Linked DNA regions of Homo sapiens: all the other regions are linked to region 4. The links are contacts of gene promoters, found by promoter capture Hi-C in human tissues and cell types (Jung and others, 2019). All regions are on one chromosome and are shown on one strand. The core of a region is centred on a gene start or on the middle of the fragment in contact, and the rest is flanking DNA. Distances in the headings are between cores, read along the strand shown. Region 1 overlaps CELF4 (CUGBP Elav-like family member 4). Region 2 overlaps KIAA1328. Region 3 overlaps CELF4 (CUGBP Elav-like family member 4). Region 4 holds the start of TPGS2 (tubulin polyglutamylase complex subunit 2).

The links. Contacts are between HindIII fragments. The study calls those that stand out against the background at their distance.
Region 1: a contact is called between a fragment that was not itself captured here and the fragment with the promoter of TPGS2 in region 4, in 3 of the 25 tissues and cell types used here (aorta, dorsolateral prefrontal cortex and thymus).
Region 2: a contact is called between a fragment that was not itself captured here and the fragment with the promoter of TPGS2 in region 4, in 2 of the 25 tissues and cell types used here (dorsolateral prefrontal cortex and mesendoderm cells).
Region 3: a fragment that was not itself captured here is called in contact with the fragment with the promoter of TPGS2 in region 4 in 1 of the 25 tissues and cell types used here (dorsolateral prefrontal cortex).

What each region holds. Positions count from the first base shown.
Region 1 is chr18:37,239,928-37,243,947 of GRCh38, reverse strand. It overlaps CELF4 (CUGBP Elav-like family member 4), which reads left to right. Exons shown (of 13, transcript NM_020180.4): 13 at 1-908. Among named protein-coding and RNA genes, the nearest start is that of SNORA111, 220 kb to the left of the region's middle. The HindIII fragment of the contact is 8,692 bases long and covers 1-4,020 here.
Region 2 is chr18:37,176,586-37,180,847 of GRCh38, reverse strand. The region is part of intron 9 of KIAA1328; the gene reads right to left. Among named protein-coding and RNA genes, the nearest start is that of SNORA111, 290 kb to the left of the region's middle. The HindIII fragment of the contact is 3,747 bases long and covers 491-4,237 here.
Region 3 is chr18:37,259,066-37,263,149 of GRCh38, reverse strand. CELF4 (CUGBP Elav-like family member 4) reads left to right here. Exons shown (of 13, transcript NM_020180.4): 11 at 3,886-3,969. Among named protein-coding and RNA genes, the nearest start is that of SNORA111, 210 kb to the left of the region's middle. The HindIII fragment of the contact is 7,935 bases long and covers 1-4,084 here.
Region 4 is chr18:36,826,945-36,830,921 of GRCh38, reverse strand. TPGS2 (tubulin polyglutamylase complex subunit 2) reads left to right here and starts at 1,920. Exons shown (of 7, transcript NM_015476.4): 1 at 1,920-2,239. The coding sequence starts at 2,155. KIAA1328 reads right to left here and starts at 1,795. Exons shown (of 10, transcript NM_020776.3): 1 at 1,726-1,795. The coding sequence starts at 1,783. RefSeq lists a silencer at 1,561-2,160 and enhancers at 1,558-2,350, 2,451-2,560. The HindIII fragment of the contact is 11,405 bases long and covers 1-3,977 here.

The DNA of each region.
Region 1 (4,020 bases), core at 1,300-3,799, 410 kb before region 4:
ACGGTCGCGTCGCCCGGGTCGCCGCCGCCGCCGCCGCCGTCATCCTCGCCTCTCGCTTCCCTCTGGGAGCTGCGCGCGCTTCACTCACCTTCCGCTTCACTCGCCTTCCACGCTTGCTCCAGAGACTTTCCGGGCAAGGGAGAACTGGGAACTTTCATCTTAAAACAACTAGACAACACACACACACACAAAACCTTAAAAAAGAGAGAGAAAAATAAACAATCTTTGAAGAATTTCTGAAACTGTTTACAAGGAATTTTGAAAAACAGGGATGTTTAAATGATGCCGGCTCTGTTTTTCTGTAAATAAATTTGCATATTTTGTAGGACTTTTAATTGTAATGATAGAGAAAAAAACAAGGAAAACTATTTAATGAAAGCACGATATTTATCTTTGGTAAATGACTTTAGAGCAGTTAAAGACATTGCTTAAAAAACTCAGAATCAGAAAAAACACTGAATTATTTAAGAACACATATATTTTAAAGTATAACATATTTATTATAATTTATTTGCACCCTTGGGAAGATTGCTTTGGCATTCTGCCTTGATTCCTTCTCATTGATGTCCAGGTCATCTGGAGGCCGGGGGTTCTCAGACCTACCAGTTTCCCTTTAGAAGAACAAATTTCCAGTTCCTCTAGGGCCTCCTGCCTTTCCTTTCTTTCTGTCAATTTTGTTGTTGTTGTTGTTTTTCATTTTCTTTTTTTCTCTTGACTCCTCCTTTTAGGATGTCCAGATGTAAAAAAAAAAAAAAAAAAAAGAAAAAAAGAAAAAAAAAAGAAAACAGCTGCAGTTCAGTACAACTGCTCTTTTCACACTCAACTCCCTAAAACTCCTTGTAACCTTCTGTAACTATTGGATGACGCTTTCTCCAGCTTAGCCCTAAATAAAGCACAGTTTAAAAAAATATTTCTTCATTGGTCTGTGCCTCTCGGACTCTGGCCAGCTGTGCCTCACAGCCCCAAGGCTTGCCCACTGGAAGTAGCTTTGGTCCTCTTTATGGAATCTGCCACACAGGCCCTCGTTCTGAGCCTCAGCATGTGAGGCTCTTCTGGGAGGTGATGGGAACAATAAAAGGAGGTCCTGTTCCACTCTAGGAAGAATCTCTCTGGACTGGTGTGTGTCTCTGAAAGTCCCCACTGCAAATTCATTCTTCTGGGTTCCTGGCAGAGGTGGCCACAGTGTCCAAGCAGAACAGAAAGGAGGCTACCTAGGCCACCCGACCTGAAGGCCGAGCAAGTGTTGGGTTGGGGGGGGAAGTTATGTGACACCTTAGGGAAGGAGGCAGTGGAGGGAAGAGGCCACAATAAAGGAAGAAGGATGAGGATGCAACTCCAAATTTACCAGCAAGCATCTTGCTCTTGGCCCCACACCTCCCGCTGCTTTGGCAGTTTGCAGGGATGGAGAAAACAGGATTCTGGGCCCTCAGTCAGGGTCCTGGTGGGGGCAAGGATGTAGAAAGAAGAGTAGGGGCCCTCCCCTGGGGCGTTTCCTGGCATGCTGCCTGTCCTACACTTAGATACGAGCTGGAGAGAGGTGTCCAGACCCTGAATGCCAGGGTGGGAGGGAAAAGCATTCCGAAGGAGGAAGAACACCACGCAGGACTTGGAGAGGGGCGGCAGGCCTCTGGAGAGGAGAGCCCAGACAGCTGCACACCAGCTGCATGCCTTCACCCAGTCCTGGCCTGGGACAGACCTTCTCAATCTTCACTATCCCACCTCCTTCCCTTCCCCTGCCCTCAGCTCTGCAGTCTGGTCTAGGAACGGGCAACTCTTTCCCAGGGCCCCCACCTCTCTCCACTGCTGAGACAGGAGGGCTGCCAAGTGAGGGGCAGGGAAGCTGCAAGGTTCAGATGCCTGGAGGAGAGAAGACAAGGCCCCAGAAACAAGGGTCATTGACTGCCTGTCAGTCTGTGTCCCCCTGTGGGAGATGGGGAAATGGCTTCGGTCCCCACCTGTCTCCTCTGAAGGAGGGTATGGAGAGTAGAGCTCAGAGCCCCAGCTACAGAGCAGTGCCTGGATCCCATGCTCCATCCTCTCCTCCCATCTCTCTTTTCAGGGCCAGGGGCCAAATCTGTGCTTCTGATGTTGGCCTGTGATGCATTAGGCTGGAGAGAAAGATCTTCGTGTATCAGCAAATAAGGGAAGGCCTTCCAGCCTTGACCTAAATGTGGACATGGTTCCGAGAGAGGGACTGAGGAGACCCTGAATGTCCCCTAAACTAACCCCCTTTTGCTGTTCAACAGGGCTGCAAGTCCAAGTGACAGCCTGCTGTGTCCATTCTAGGGAGCTGCACTTCTTGGAAGAATTAGCTTCAAGGGGCTGGATGTCAGACTGGGTATTATTCTGCCCTGAGAAGAATGGAAGGTGTTTTCTAAGAAATTCTCTGGGGAGTGGGGAGGTGTCTTTAGGTTTTGAGCCTCCGACTAGTCAACACGGTGATTTCTGTTGCATACCTGCAGCTGAAAGAGGACAGCCTCAACCCCCAGCACCCCCTCTTACTCTTTCAGACCCCAGGAAGCCTCCCAGAGATCCCCAAGTGACCTCCCCAGACCTCTCCTGTTTGTGTCCACCTCCCCACTGTGTACCCTTGTCTCTGGGACATAGCCCTCCCCTACCTCCACTTAAAGTGTTGTAGCTAAGGGCTTAGGCACCCTGGGAGCTGTCACCAGAGAGATGGGCTGTGAAGCCAGCCAGGCAATTTCGCCCTCTTCCGGGTATGGCTGACTGAGAGGGGAGCTGACAACACTGGAGCCAGATATGAACATTCCAGTTCTATAAAAGAAACCTTCAATGTAAAAACCACGCACCAGGTGACTGATACATGCATAGCACACTTAAGAGAGAATACAATTTATTAACCTCTGGGGAAAAGAGATTCCTTGAAAACTTGCTGGAAACTACTGGATCACTTTGCACATGATTATGGAGAGAGAGCTCAGGGATCCCTGCAACTCATCCATCACTCCCTGGTTAAGAACTCCTGATTTGCAATGTTAGTTAAGAGAACCCAAGACAAAATTCTTGTTGATTTCTGCTTCTATTCTATGGCTTTTATTCCTTTGCTATTATCCTATATGCAGTGTGTGGCTTCTTCATAGCACCCCTATTTGTAAAAGACCTTTTGCTTATTATTAGAAACTTTTTATTTCAAGCACAAGAAACAAGAGTAGAGACACTTGCCTAAGGAATCCCTTAGGCAAGTACTCACTACCTAGCTTCAGCATACCTCAACTCCAACAGTAGTTTGACAAAAATCCCAGGTATCAAGTCATTTCATTGCTAAATGCCTCCACTTCCCCTTAATGTTTTCCATGCTGCATTGATGTCTGCCAGCTGGCTCTGGCCTGTTGGGCATCTGTAACCTTGCTGTGGCAGCCGCTGGGGAACTTGGCCTTCATAGCCTCACCACAGCCTTATCCTGGGGTGGAACTGGCTCCTGGTGGGAGCCCCAGGCTTCTCTCCAGCACCTCCCCAGGGCAACTGCACCTGTTCCCAGCAGCACTTTCAAAGTCCTTCCAGCTCTTCCTCCAAAGCTTTGTAGTCACAGCTTCTCTTTTCTCTTTCTTCTCCTTTTATCCTCCTATCTCTGTGATGCTAGTATGAAAAAGTTATGTTTATATGAGACTTTTCATTTAATGCTCCCATCTCCCTCTGTGTTTTTCTAAAGATCTGACCTTTTTCCTGTTCTGAGCAGGATTACACCTCCGTCCCTCATGCTAAGCACTGGTAGAGAGAAACACAAGACATACTAGAGCTTCCCCACTCATGCAAGCACTGCCAAGGCCTCCATCCTCCAGGACTGCTGCTAGTCATCTGGGCAAAGCTGCAGATCCCCATAGCACAGGGTCTGCAGGGCTAGTGTTTGAATTACAGTGGATAAAACACAGATAAACATTCCCCACCTTGCTTGCCCACTTGGTAAAGTGGATAAGGGACATATGGCAGTGAGCTTAGGAAGCCCAGCCCAAAGTGACAGCATCAGACTTGGCTGTGAATGCCATTTGACTATTTACCCAA
Region 2 (4,262 bases), core at 1,115-3,614, 350 kb before region 4:
CTATTATATACACGCAGCAAGGTTTGCTATTCAAACCTACTATGAAAACCCCAGCAGAGGTTTGTGATCTTAGTTTATCTTATTCCTCTCTCCTGCTAGGAGGATAATACATGATCATTTCCTCTGCTAGGAACATCAGAAAACCTGGTTGAGTGTTTAAAATATTTAGGTAAATGTATATGTGAGAAGATAGTCTCATTAAAAAAAAAACGGTTTTGTTACTGTTAGGATTCTGGACACAAATGCAAGCAAATATTGCAATCTGACTGCTATGCATAATTGAACTACAACACCTCCACTTCTCTGTGTAACTAAGTTTCTTTCTATCAAGTTATAAAAACAAAACAAATTCCAATGTTAAAGTAAGTTTGTCTGATTCCTACCCAAAACCAGAATTTTATCAGCTCAGTGCTTACACGTCAGAATCAAATCCAAGTTTCAGCCAGAATGGAAGAATGAAAAAACTTTGAAAGTTGCGATTAGAAAAGCTCGATTCATGTCTTCTTTTCTGCTTCCTACTATGTGACCTTGGTCAGTTACTCAGTCTCCTTTAGTTCTTATTTCCTCATTGTCAAATCGGATAATACTACTACTTACCTCACCTTACCTCACAGGATTGTGATGCAATTTAAATGAAATAACGTACCTAAAATCATTCTGCCAATGCTAAAGTACTATGCTAAGAATTGTGAACAGGCAATTATAAATTTCAGTATTATATTTTTGTTCCCAGTATAAAAATGTGTGTGTGTGTGTGTGTGTGTGTGTGTGTGTGTGTGTGTGTGTGTGGCTTTTGAATCCCATGGCAGCTGTCAATCCAGAATTCTGTAGCTGAGATAAAATAGATCACTGTTACAATCAAGCAGATCATATTTATGTGACTTTCCCTTCTCTTCAATTTGAATGGTTACTGGCAGTGTGATATGGGAAACGAAATAGTGTCTGACCTGCTCAATGGGCTAAAGCCTTGGTTTATAACCCACAGAGAATCAAGAGTAACATCCTCTTTGTGGCCCAGCAAAGGAAAAAAACACCATCAGTTGTTCTGGTACTTTAAAGGCTGTGCCATCATATCTGGAGCTGGAAGCAATTGGATTTTCATGTTAAGTTACTTAAGATAACAATAAAGATAAATAAATAATGTATTCACAACAGAGAGAAGATTCCTTCCAGACTGGGATTGGTAGAGTATGGTCCCAGGTTTCAGATACTTCTGAGCCTAGTTCCTGGCTCTCAGTCTCAGTGGGCCAAAGATCACACAAGCCACCTTCTAGTCAGCTGTGTTTAAACAGCTGCCTTGTGAGCATGGCTGTGCACAGGCAACTGTACTATAGAAAGCTCAGCAAGGCATGAGCTTACAGCAAAATTTTCAGAACACATTAAACATATGGTTGACAGCAAAGCAAGGTTTTAAAAAAACTCAAACTAAACTATTAACACAATAACATGGAAATAAATCTATGTACTTACAGCCAACTGATATTTGACAAAGGTGTGAAGAACATACAATGGAAAAAGGACAGTCTTTTCAATGCTGGGAAAACTGGATATCCACATGCAGACATGCAGAGAGTGAAACTAGACTCCCTATCTCTCATCAGATACAAAAATCAAATCAAAATGGATTAAAGGCTTAAATGTAAGTCCTGAAACTATGGAACTACTGGAAGCAAACAAAGAGGAAAAGCTCCATGACATTGGTCAGGAAAATGCTTTCCTGGATATAGCCTCAAAAGCACAGGCAACAAAAGCAAAAATAGACAAATGGGATTACATCAAAGCTTCTGCACAGCAAAGGACACAATTAACAGAGTGATGAGACAACCTGCAGAATGGGAGAAAACACTTGCAAACTATCCATCTGATAAGAAGTTACTATGCAAAATATATAAGGAACTCAAACAACTCAATAGCAAGAAAATAAAGTGACTAAAAAAATAGGTTAAAGACCTGAATAGACATTTCTCAAAGGAAAACATTAAAATGGCTAACGGGTACATGAAAAAATTCTCAAAATCAATAATCATCAGGAAAATACAAATCAAAACCACAATGAAATATCACTTTGCTCCTGTCAGAATGGCTGTTACCAAACGGACAAGACAAGTGTTGGCAATGATTGGAGAAAGAAAACTCTCATATACTATTGGGTCGGAATGTAAATTAGTACAGCCATTATGAAAAATAGTATGGATGCTCCTCAAAAAATTACAAAAAGAACTACCATATGATCCAACAATCCCACTGCTGGGTATGTATCCAAAGGAAATGAAACCGGTATGTCAAAGAGATATCTACACTTCATGTTTACTGAAGCACTCATAATAGCCAAGATATGGAATCAACCTAAGTGTCCATAAATGGATGAATGGATAATGAAAATGTGGTATATATACACAGTGAATACTATTCAGCCATAAATAAGAATGAAATCCTGTCATTTGTGGCAACATAGATGAACCTGAAGCATATTATGTCAAGTGAAATAAGCCGGGCACAAAAAACAAATACTGAACTGGTTGACTTGGCCTCAATTGCTTTCCAACAAGCAATCTCACTTGTATGTGGGATCTAGAAACGTTGATCTCATAGAAGCAGTGAGTATGATAGTGATACTAGAGGCTAGGAAGAGTGGGAGGTGGGGACATGGGGAGAGAGGGGTCATTGGGTACAAAGTTACAGTTAGATAGGAGGAATAAGTTCTGATGTTCTATTGTGCAGTAGGGTGACTATGGCTAACAATATTGCATTTTATTAGGTTGGTGCAAAAGTAATTGCAGTTTTTGCCATTATTTTTAATAGAAAAAAAACCACAATTACTTTTGCACTAACCTAATGTATTTCAAAATAACTAGAAGAGAGGATTTTGAATGTTCTCACCATAAAGAAATGATAAATGTATGAGGCGATGGATGTGCTAGATTCTCTGATTTGATCATTACACAATATATACATGTATTGGAACACCACAATGTACCTCATAAATATGTGTAATTATGATGTGTCAATTAATAAAAATAAACTATTTTTTAAAAGCCCCCAAATAATTTATCAAGTCCCTCAAAGTATGTACTCAAGTATTTCCCAAATCCTGTCAAGAAAAAAGAAGCTTCACAAAATCAACACCTCTCCCCACCAGTAACTCAAAAAGAAACAAAACAAAATAAAACAAAACAAAAACCTTTAACGCTTTTGTGTTGTCATTAAAAACTCATCTTTCTTTAAAAAAAAAAGCTAAAAAAGTGAACAGTACATCCTAGAAACAGGCTAATTCCAGTTCCAGTTCTGAAAATTCACTAGTTGGGCGTGATTTGGTGAAATCTCCCTTTCTTTCTTCACATCTTACACACAGACACACAAAGGCACAGGGAGAGCACCAGCTGTAACTGTTTGTAGAAGTCATAGAAGAACAGAAAGAAGTGACCTTAGTAACCTTTTACTTCAGGGACTGAGAATCTAATCCTGCTACTGTAGGCCTGGTGTGCCTCTGCTTATCAGGGTCCAACAATCACTGTGTCACCATATGACTGAAAAATACAAACTCCACCAATATTTTTAAAGGTGACAAGATTTCTGTTGCATTGAGCAATCTCAGAAGATACTATCTTCATTTTAATATAAAATGTATCAGATCTACACATCTGAATAGAAAAAGACACCAACATATCAAGGATATACAGCTGTAATAGGCCTTCTTTCCCAGTCAAATTTGAAATAAAAGACCTGAAGATCCAAGGCTACATTAATGCAAATTCTGCCTGTTGCAAGTATACTTTTTGATTAAATTGGCATACATCAAGTACAATTAGAAAGGCTATTTATAACGAAGAAATACATAATTCTGCATCTTAATGTAGATGACAATTACAGCTGATGGTTGCTAATTATCATTACTTCTTTTGCTTTGAGTGTTATATATTTCCTGTATGATCTTTATTGTTGACAATGGACACACCTAATTCTAGAAGGCACAAAATGGTTAATTATCAGTTATATCTGTGCTCATAACACATTCATTTGAGAAGCAAATGGTAACTTGCCCAGCTCTGGCTTCACACTGGAGACTAAAGGATCAAGTAGACTTGGTAAACTCTGACTCATTCATTTGGTAGGAAAGGTATTTATTTAAGTTTCTTTTAGAGCCAAGGCTCACCTACCCTGAGGTGTTCAGAATGACAGGGAGAAAGCCCCTCAACTCCTCTTTCCAGGTGGAGTGGTCTGTGGGGCATTGCTTGTTCCATTCAAGCAGAAATGAATGGTAC
Region 3 (4,084 bases), core at 1,366-3,865, 430 kb before region 4:
GGGGAGCGTTCTCTGGAGGGGTGTGAGGACCAAGCCGGCTGAGTCTGCCCCCAAACTCCATTCTCAGTGCACACTGCCCTTCCTTTACCAAGCTACCACCCCTTCCAAGGCTGTGCATGAGGCATACCACCCCAGCTCACACCCAGCAGGCAACTTCTGAGATCAGGGGCATCAGGGCTTCCCATGCCCAGGAAAGCCAAGTTACAGGAACCCAGAGGGGTGCACAGGAAGGCCCAGCCCATACCCTGCCTCACGCTGCTGCAGCTGAGGGACACTGGGCTACCACTGGTGAAGTGGGGGTGGGGGTGGTCCCCTCATCAGGCTGCAGCCCTGGGCCTGCCTTGCCCTTGCCTTCCCCACAGTCCAAGCCTTCATCAGTAAGACCAGGGCCACAAGGGGTGGGGTCCAGGAGTCCCCATGTTGCCCGCTCCAGGTCCAGAACAGAGAGCTGTGCCTACAGGCCCTGATATCTTTTCTCCCACTGGTGCCATTGTCAGCTCCCTGAATCACTCTGGCCTATTGGCTCAGGGGTCTCTAAATCCTGCCCCACCCTTCACACAGCCGTAGGTCAATGGCACCCTGCCCAACACACATGACAGCCCCTACTGCAGGCCTTAAACTGAGGCCCCCATGGGCCCTCCTGCCCCTCTCCCACCCTACACTCCACCATCCCATATGTGTAGCTCTGAACTCCTCCTCATTCCTTCTCTCCATCTCTGAGCAGCTGCAATTCCTGCCCCCCCCTCCCCCACCCCACACACACACCTTGCTCCCTAGTCTAGGCCCTCTGTGGCCAGTCCTGGCTCCAGCCTCTCCTTGGGGTGGCAGGATCTGCTGCTATTGTCCCCATTCTCCCAGGCCATGGTCCATGGGTTGAGCCACCCCAGGGATGCAGGGGATGGGGAAGAGTAATGCACGATACCAACAGAGCCGCACAGCATGGGCGGGTGAGAGCGCGGCACTGGGAGTGGTTTGTCAGGAAGGCTTCTGTGGGTCTGGAAGGATGAGCAGAGGTTGGCAGCACATAGAGCTGGGGAGGCAGGAGGTCCAGGCAGGGGGAACAGCGGGATTAAAAGTGCAGCTGCTGCAGAGTCCAAGGTGAGCATGGGGCCAGGGAGAGACAGGCGCAAGGTGGGCTGGAGCCTGGCCAAAGCCGTGTCCCACAGAGTTGTCCGAGTCATGAACAAGAAAGAAGGCTGTGTTCCTCCAACCCTGCCAAGAGTTGGCTTCTTTATGTCATGGTCCCCTCCCCATGTGGAATGTCATGGAAATACCAGGATATTCTGGTGGCAGGGGAGGACCCTTCTGCCACCTCCTCATCTTTGAGCTGAGCCTGAAAACAGACAGATGCCTGAATTCCCCAGAGGCCATCTGCCCCACAGATGGGATGAGGTTGCCCTCAGGGATGGCTGCCGCAGCGGCTCTGCCAGGGCTGCAAGGTGGTCAGGGGTAGCCGCTTTCTGTCTCTGCAGCTCCGCTTCACCATTTCTCAGAAGGCTGGGCTGGACCACATTGGTCTCTAAAGTCCTGCCAGCTCTGCCATCTGCATGTTCTGTAATCTGTGAATGAGGGAGTGCAGAAGGGCTTGGCGGTAGCTGGAGTTAGACAGCGTGTGGGCTCACTGTCCAGGGGAAGGGACTAGAGCTGCTGCCCTGGCTTCTTCGTCAGGCCTGGGCTAGAGAGTCATCCCTGGGGCTCCGCCACACACCGCGCATGTGGGATTGAGCCTGCGGGCCCTGTCTGTGAAGGCTCCTTATCTCTAAGGAGAACAGATGTAGCTTCCACATAAAGCAGCTTGCAGAACTTGAACTCAGAGCCAGGGCCCCAAGTCAAGGCAGGTGTCAGCATGGGCTGGAGCAGTCAGGGCCTGGAAGAGTGAGGATGGGAGGAGGAAGGGAGGTGTGGGGGGGGCTGGAGGGGGCTGGGCAGGAGGACACAAGAAGGAGCATGCCCCTGGGAGCAGCCAGTCTGGTTGGAGAGAAAAACCTCTAGACATAAAAGAGAAAGAGCCCCACCCCAGAGGATGAAGTGTGGATTCGGGCATGAGCAGGGAGAGGCTGGAGGTTCTTTCAGAGAGGGAGGGTATGGGGAGCTGGGGGCCACCAAGGGCACATTCACAGGGCATGAACCAGTGGGAAGACAGCATGGTTGGAGGGGACAGGGTGAGGGGAGGGCCACCAGAGCTCGGGGGTATCCAGCACCAGGAACCCCTGGAAGGGGGTGAGGGAGCATGTTTGTGCCCGGTTCTGAATGCGCCGTCCCCCAGCAGGATGCCTGGGAGCCAGCAGTCCAGGGAGGGGAGGCCGAAGGGCTGGGGTGGGCAGAGGGCACAGGGCGAGCACCAAGGAGGGAGGAAGCCAGTGGCTCCTTGGGCAGCTTTAGGGGTTGGGGAAATTTTTGTTCTAGGCTGTGGACCTTGAGGGAATAGAGATAGATGGAGAAAAGGAGGAGAGTGGAAGGTAGAGGAGCAGAAGAGAAGGTGCAGAGTCTCTAAATCGAACCTTTACTCCAGAACTGGGTTGTCTGGCAGCCTCATGGCTCCCAGAGAACAAGGACGGTTGGCTCTGGCGTGAAAGCCATGCAGCGGCCCATGTTGGTGCCTTACAGCCTTCACTGTTGAGCTCATGCCTAGGTTTCCAGCAGCCTCTGGTCAGAACCTTGCTTCTTACACAACACTAGGTGCAGTTGGTTCCTTCCCATTCCCACCACAGCTTGGACACCATCATTGAAATGACCACAAGTCACTTTAAAAGATGAAATTATATGTGGCATATGCTATCTAAGACGCATCTTGGAACGATTTCCATTTTAAAGAGTTAAAATTGAGCATTTTGACTATTTCAAAAGAAACAGGTAAATGGTTAGTTATTGGGAATTTTAGAAAGCTAAAGCCCTGCATAGTGTTCAGGGGATCTGGGATATTGAGATTTTTGGTAGCAAGAGGGAAAGAATTCACTCTATGGAGACAGGCTAGGCTCATGTCCTGGCTCCAGGCCCCTCCCAGCTGTGCGTGTTTTGGCAGGTGACTTAACCTCTCTGGGCCTCACTTCCTCATCTGTGAAGTGGCAATGATGATAATAATGTCACAGGGTTGCTGTAAGGATTAAGTGAGTTAGAGACATGTAAAGTGCTCAGAACAGCCTGACACATAGTTTGTGCTGCTGAAGTCGCAGGGCTGTTACTGTGGTAACGAAATGAAGAACCTTCATGTCATGAGGCTGGAGGGTTCCCTGGCTAATCATAGAGCCTCAGTTGCAGCGCTTCCTACGCACCTACACAGGAGGAGGCAGGATAAATCTTGGTTTCCTGGGTGTGTGGAACTGGGCAGGACAGTTGGGCCATCAGGGGCAGATGAGAAAGAGAGGCTGCAGGCCAGGGGGAGGATGGGCACCCCAATCCCAGAGTCTGAGACTGGCCTGCGAGAAGGGAAAGTGGGGGGTCTCCCCAGCACAGGACTTGGCTGCCCCAGGGGATGCCCTGGTCCCCCCAGAGCAGGGGCAGGGCAGGAGGGAGGCCTCCCGGATCTCCTGGGCCTTCCCTATCTTCAGCACCTGGTTTCCAGAGACACAGCAGTAGGTCGACTCCGCCTCTGGAGCCCTAGGGTTTCTAAGCCTCTGCTACAGATCCATTTTATAGAAAAGGCAACTGAGGCACAGAGAGGTTCAGTGACTTGCCCAAGGGCAGAGCAGAGACCGGAGCTCAGACCCGGGGCTCAGCATCCCTGCCTCTTCTGGGGCGCCCTTGGATCTGGAATGAGACTCCCCCTCCTAACCTTGCCCCCACCCCTCCCTGCTGCGCTGCCTAACTCGCTCACCTCTCCTCTGTCTCTCTCTTCCCCCACCCTGCCATCCCTCCTCCCCCGCCCACCCCCTCCCCTCACCGCAGGGCCCGAGGGCTGTAACCTGTTCATCTACCATCTGCCCCAGGAGTTTGGGGACGCTGAGCTGATGCAGATGTTCCTCCCTTTCGGTAATGTCATCTCCTCGAAAGTGTTTGTGGATCGGGCGACTAACCAAAGTAAATGCTTTGGTGGGTAAAGATAACAAACCAATTAGCTTCACCTAGGACAGGGCGGTGCTCGCAC
Region 4 (3,977 bases), core at 671-3,170:
TGGTCATTACGTGGAATAGTCTGAGGGGAAAGGTGACACTAGCAACTTTGCAATTCCTTTCATACATCTGAATTAGATCTTATAGGATATAATCGCCACCATTTTTCCCCTGTACAATTTCAATTCCTCACTATCTATGAGAGGACGAATATTTTACATTAAATGTTGGGAGTCAGAATACAAGAGATAACGGAGTATATATGACTTCTACATAAAATAGGGGGTGATATAACTACATGAGTAAGTGAAAGTACTGGGTGCGAAGACCAAGAGCTTAGGTTCAGTCCATATATCTATTAATACACTTATTCAGTCCCATTGCAATAGCTTGTCCCCCCCCCAAACCATTGATTCTATATTTGAACAGTACCATAGGATGCTATAAGCTAATAACCTTCAAGTATCTCCTCCATCACAAAATTATGTCAATGCAGAAGCAGTGTTTCTTGAGAAAAGACTTATCCCAATTTCCTAACTTCCTAATTCAGCCCAGTTGTCCACAGTGCACATATTCTCTTCTGAAAGGTAAAGGAAAAAATATTTAATTTGCACACTGCACTAGTATGCTTTCATCCACAGTGTATGTACATGATTTCATTTGCTTTTCACCAACCTATCAGAGACAAATGGTAATTATGTCTAGTAAGTGCAAACACTAAACACGAGCAGCACAGAATACAAACATATCCCTCTCTCTACACATGACACTAATCCTAGTAACTCAACAAAGGAGTTGATAACACAGTTTTGTAAGTTTCACTGGGAGCTAAGAAGAATGCCCAGTGATTCTGCCAAAGGTAACAGCAACGCCTCAATTAATGCCATCACCAATCCTAGCAAACACAAAAAGAGCTGCCTCTGCAAGCACTCAGTAACACAGATTGCCGTCCCTCTTTCAAGTAACCCCTCTAAGGAACGTGAAGTAAATTATCAGGACCAAAGCTCAAGCGAGAAGAGTCTACCTACTCCAAGGAAAGAAACACTCCTGTCACACAAACATCTCATCACTGCTGCTGAACTGGTAATACTACCACTGGACTAAAAAGTTCCACTGCTTCTCCACCTCACAACGATCCAAGAACTTCAATGACTGCCAGTGACCCGCACTCCACAAGTAAGTCAACAATACTTCCAGGCACAATGATTCCCATCTTACGCAGTAACCAGCACCACCAGACCACATCCCAGTAACCAAGCTCCACACCTCTCCTAAAACCCCAGTATTAAAATACATCATCACTGGAGGGCCTTTTAAGTCCGAAAGGTCCTGACTTGCTCCTAGCAATGCAGACTAAAGACAATCCTAAATCAAAACAAAAAGGCTCCCTGTCCAGCCAACACCGACTCCTCCCTCAACTTCGAGCTAGCTCCGCACACTCAAGTCAGCCTGGGGGCACTCTGACAGGGTGGGCAGAGGGACCTCGGAGGGCCATCTCAGCCCTGGACTGAGCCTGGACTCAAGGCTATCTTTCTCGAGCTCACCGGTAGTGAGCGCTGGGAAGCATCTGAGCCGTGTCCCCACACCTGCAGACAGTACCAGTCTCTCGGCCACCTAACACCCAAGCAAGGGGAGAGCCCAGCACCTAGACTGGGGCCGAGCAGCACGTCCCCATCCCCGGGGTTAGTTCGGAGCTTCTCCTCCGCTCTCGGACTGCCACGCGACGGCTCGCCCCTCGCCGTCCCGTGGAGGGCGCCGGCGCCCCCTGTCAGGCGGGCAAAGGATACAGTCCCGGCTCCAGAACGCCGCGGCACTGGGGCGGGAGGGGCCCGCCACGTCCGCCATCTTGAAACAACCGCCACTCGGGGCGTCGCGCCTGGGCCGCCACGCCTCGGCCTGCAGGCTCGGTCCCCATTGGCCGCACCACGCAGAGGCCCGCCCCCGCCTGCGCGGCCGGCCCCTGCGGGGCGAGAGGGTGGGGGCGAAGGGGAAGCTACGTCCCGGAGGTGCGGTGTGGGGCACCGGGCGGGGCCGCGGGAACCGGCGCCCCACGGAGCTGCTGCTGTCAGACCAACCCCGGGCCCCCATCATCACTGCGCCGCGCTTTCAGGCGCCGAGAACTACCGTTCCCGGCATGCCATGAAATTGGCCTCGGCGCTGAGGCGGGGTCCGGCCCTCCACCCGCTCCCGCCGCGCGCGAATCGCGGTCGCGAGCCATGGAGGAGGAGGCATCGTCCCCGGGGCTGGGCTGCAGCAAGCCGCACCTGGAGAAGCTGACCCTGGGCATCACGCGCATCCTAGGTGAGGAAAGGGGGCACGGTGCCGAGAGGGTGTGGAGGAGAAGGAAGGAGGAGCGGAGGGATGAGGTGCGGGGTGAGCGGTGCGACGCTGGCCCCAGAACAGGAGTGGACATCGCTGCTGGGACTTCCGTTGTTACAGAGGAAAGTGGGGGACCTGGGTTTGTGATTAGGCCTTGAAAGTGTTTGCCAGGAGTGTTCGGAGGCAGAGCTGGGAAGCCTGAAGTTTCCCCCACTCACCGCCAACCAAGGTCCCACCCAGGAAGGACGGGCAGAGACGTGCAAAGGGAACACAGCAAGCACCTGACGGTTGGGAAGTTGGATCTCCCCCTAGGAGGCATTCTCAGCCAGGGCATTATCCCCGAAACCCAAGACCTTTCTCTGGGGGAAGTAATGCACCCGACCTCCCAGGGCGACAACTACGTCGGGTCTGAAAGGAATCCAACCTTGCACCACTGAATGACTCAGAGTTTTTCTTTTATCGAACATTTCTTTGTTTGCTTGCTTGTTTGTATTTTGAGACAGAGTTTTGCTCTTGTTGCCCAGGCTGGAGTGCAATGGCGCGATCTCGGCTCACTGCAACCTGCGCCTCCTGGGTTCAAGCAATTCTCCTGCCTCGCCCAGCTATTTTTTTGTATTTTTAGTAGAGACAGGGTTCCACCATGTTGGCCAGGCTGGTCTCGAACTCCTGACCTCAGGTGATCCACCCGCCTCGACCTCCCAAAGTGCTGGAATTACAGGCGTGAGCCACCGCGCCTGGCCTATCAAACGTTTCTTTAGTACTCACCACTATGTTAGACGTGAGGTTAAAAATATGAAAAAGACACAGTTCTGTGAAAAAAATAAACAAATGAGGTCACTAGGAGTGTGAAAAGAGGTCAGTAATCTGTTACTCAGAGATGTCACAGAGGAGGGGACTGATCTTACCAGGGAAGTTAAAGAACATGTCACAGAGGAGATGATGCTAGATTTTGAAAGACATATAGGAGTTAGCCAGAAAACTAAGGAGGAGAAAGGTCTTTTAAGAAGGCTGAAAAGCATGCTTCAGTGCCTTCCCATCACAATTATAATAAAATCCAAATGTCTGTACCATGACCCACAAGTCCCTGTAAGATCTGCTCTCATCTCTTTCTGACTTTGTTTCCACTCTTGCCCACATGGCCTTCTAGCTGTACCTTAAACACACTAAGCGGGTTCCTGCTTCAGGGCTTTTGCAGTTTGCTAGTCCTTGCACCTGGAATTATCTTTCTCTGAATGTCTCGCTTCTTCAGGTCATTCAGATCTCTGATCAAATGTCATTATTTCAGAGAAACCTTCCCTGAATATAGTTCGAATAACCGCCGTCTTTCTTGCTCTCTCTTTCCTTACCCTGCTTTTTCTTTTATTCTTATAGCACTTTCACTACTTGAAATTATGTATTTGTTTGGTTGATTTTTAAAATTTGTGTCTCTTTTAATAGAAGTCCAAGACCAAGTGTGATTTAGGAATGAGTGGTTTTAACATATGAAAATCAATTAATAGCTGGGCATGGTGGCCCATGTCTTTAGTTCCAGCTACTGGGGAGGCTGTGGTGGGAGGGTTATTAGAGCCCAGTTCAAGTCCAGCTGGACAACATAGCAAGACCCTGTCACTAAAAAAAAAGAAACTTAAAAAAAATCAATTAATATAATACAACTTACTAATAGAATAAGACAAAAACTGCATAATCATCTTAATAAAAAAAGCATTTGACAAAATCTAAC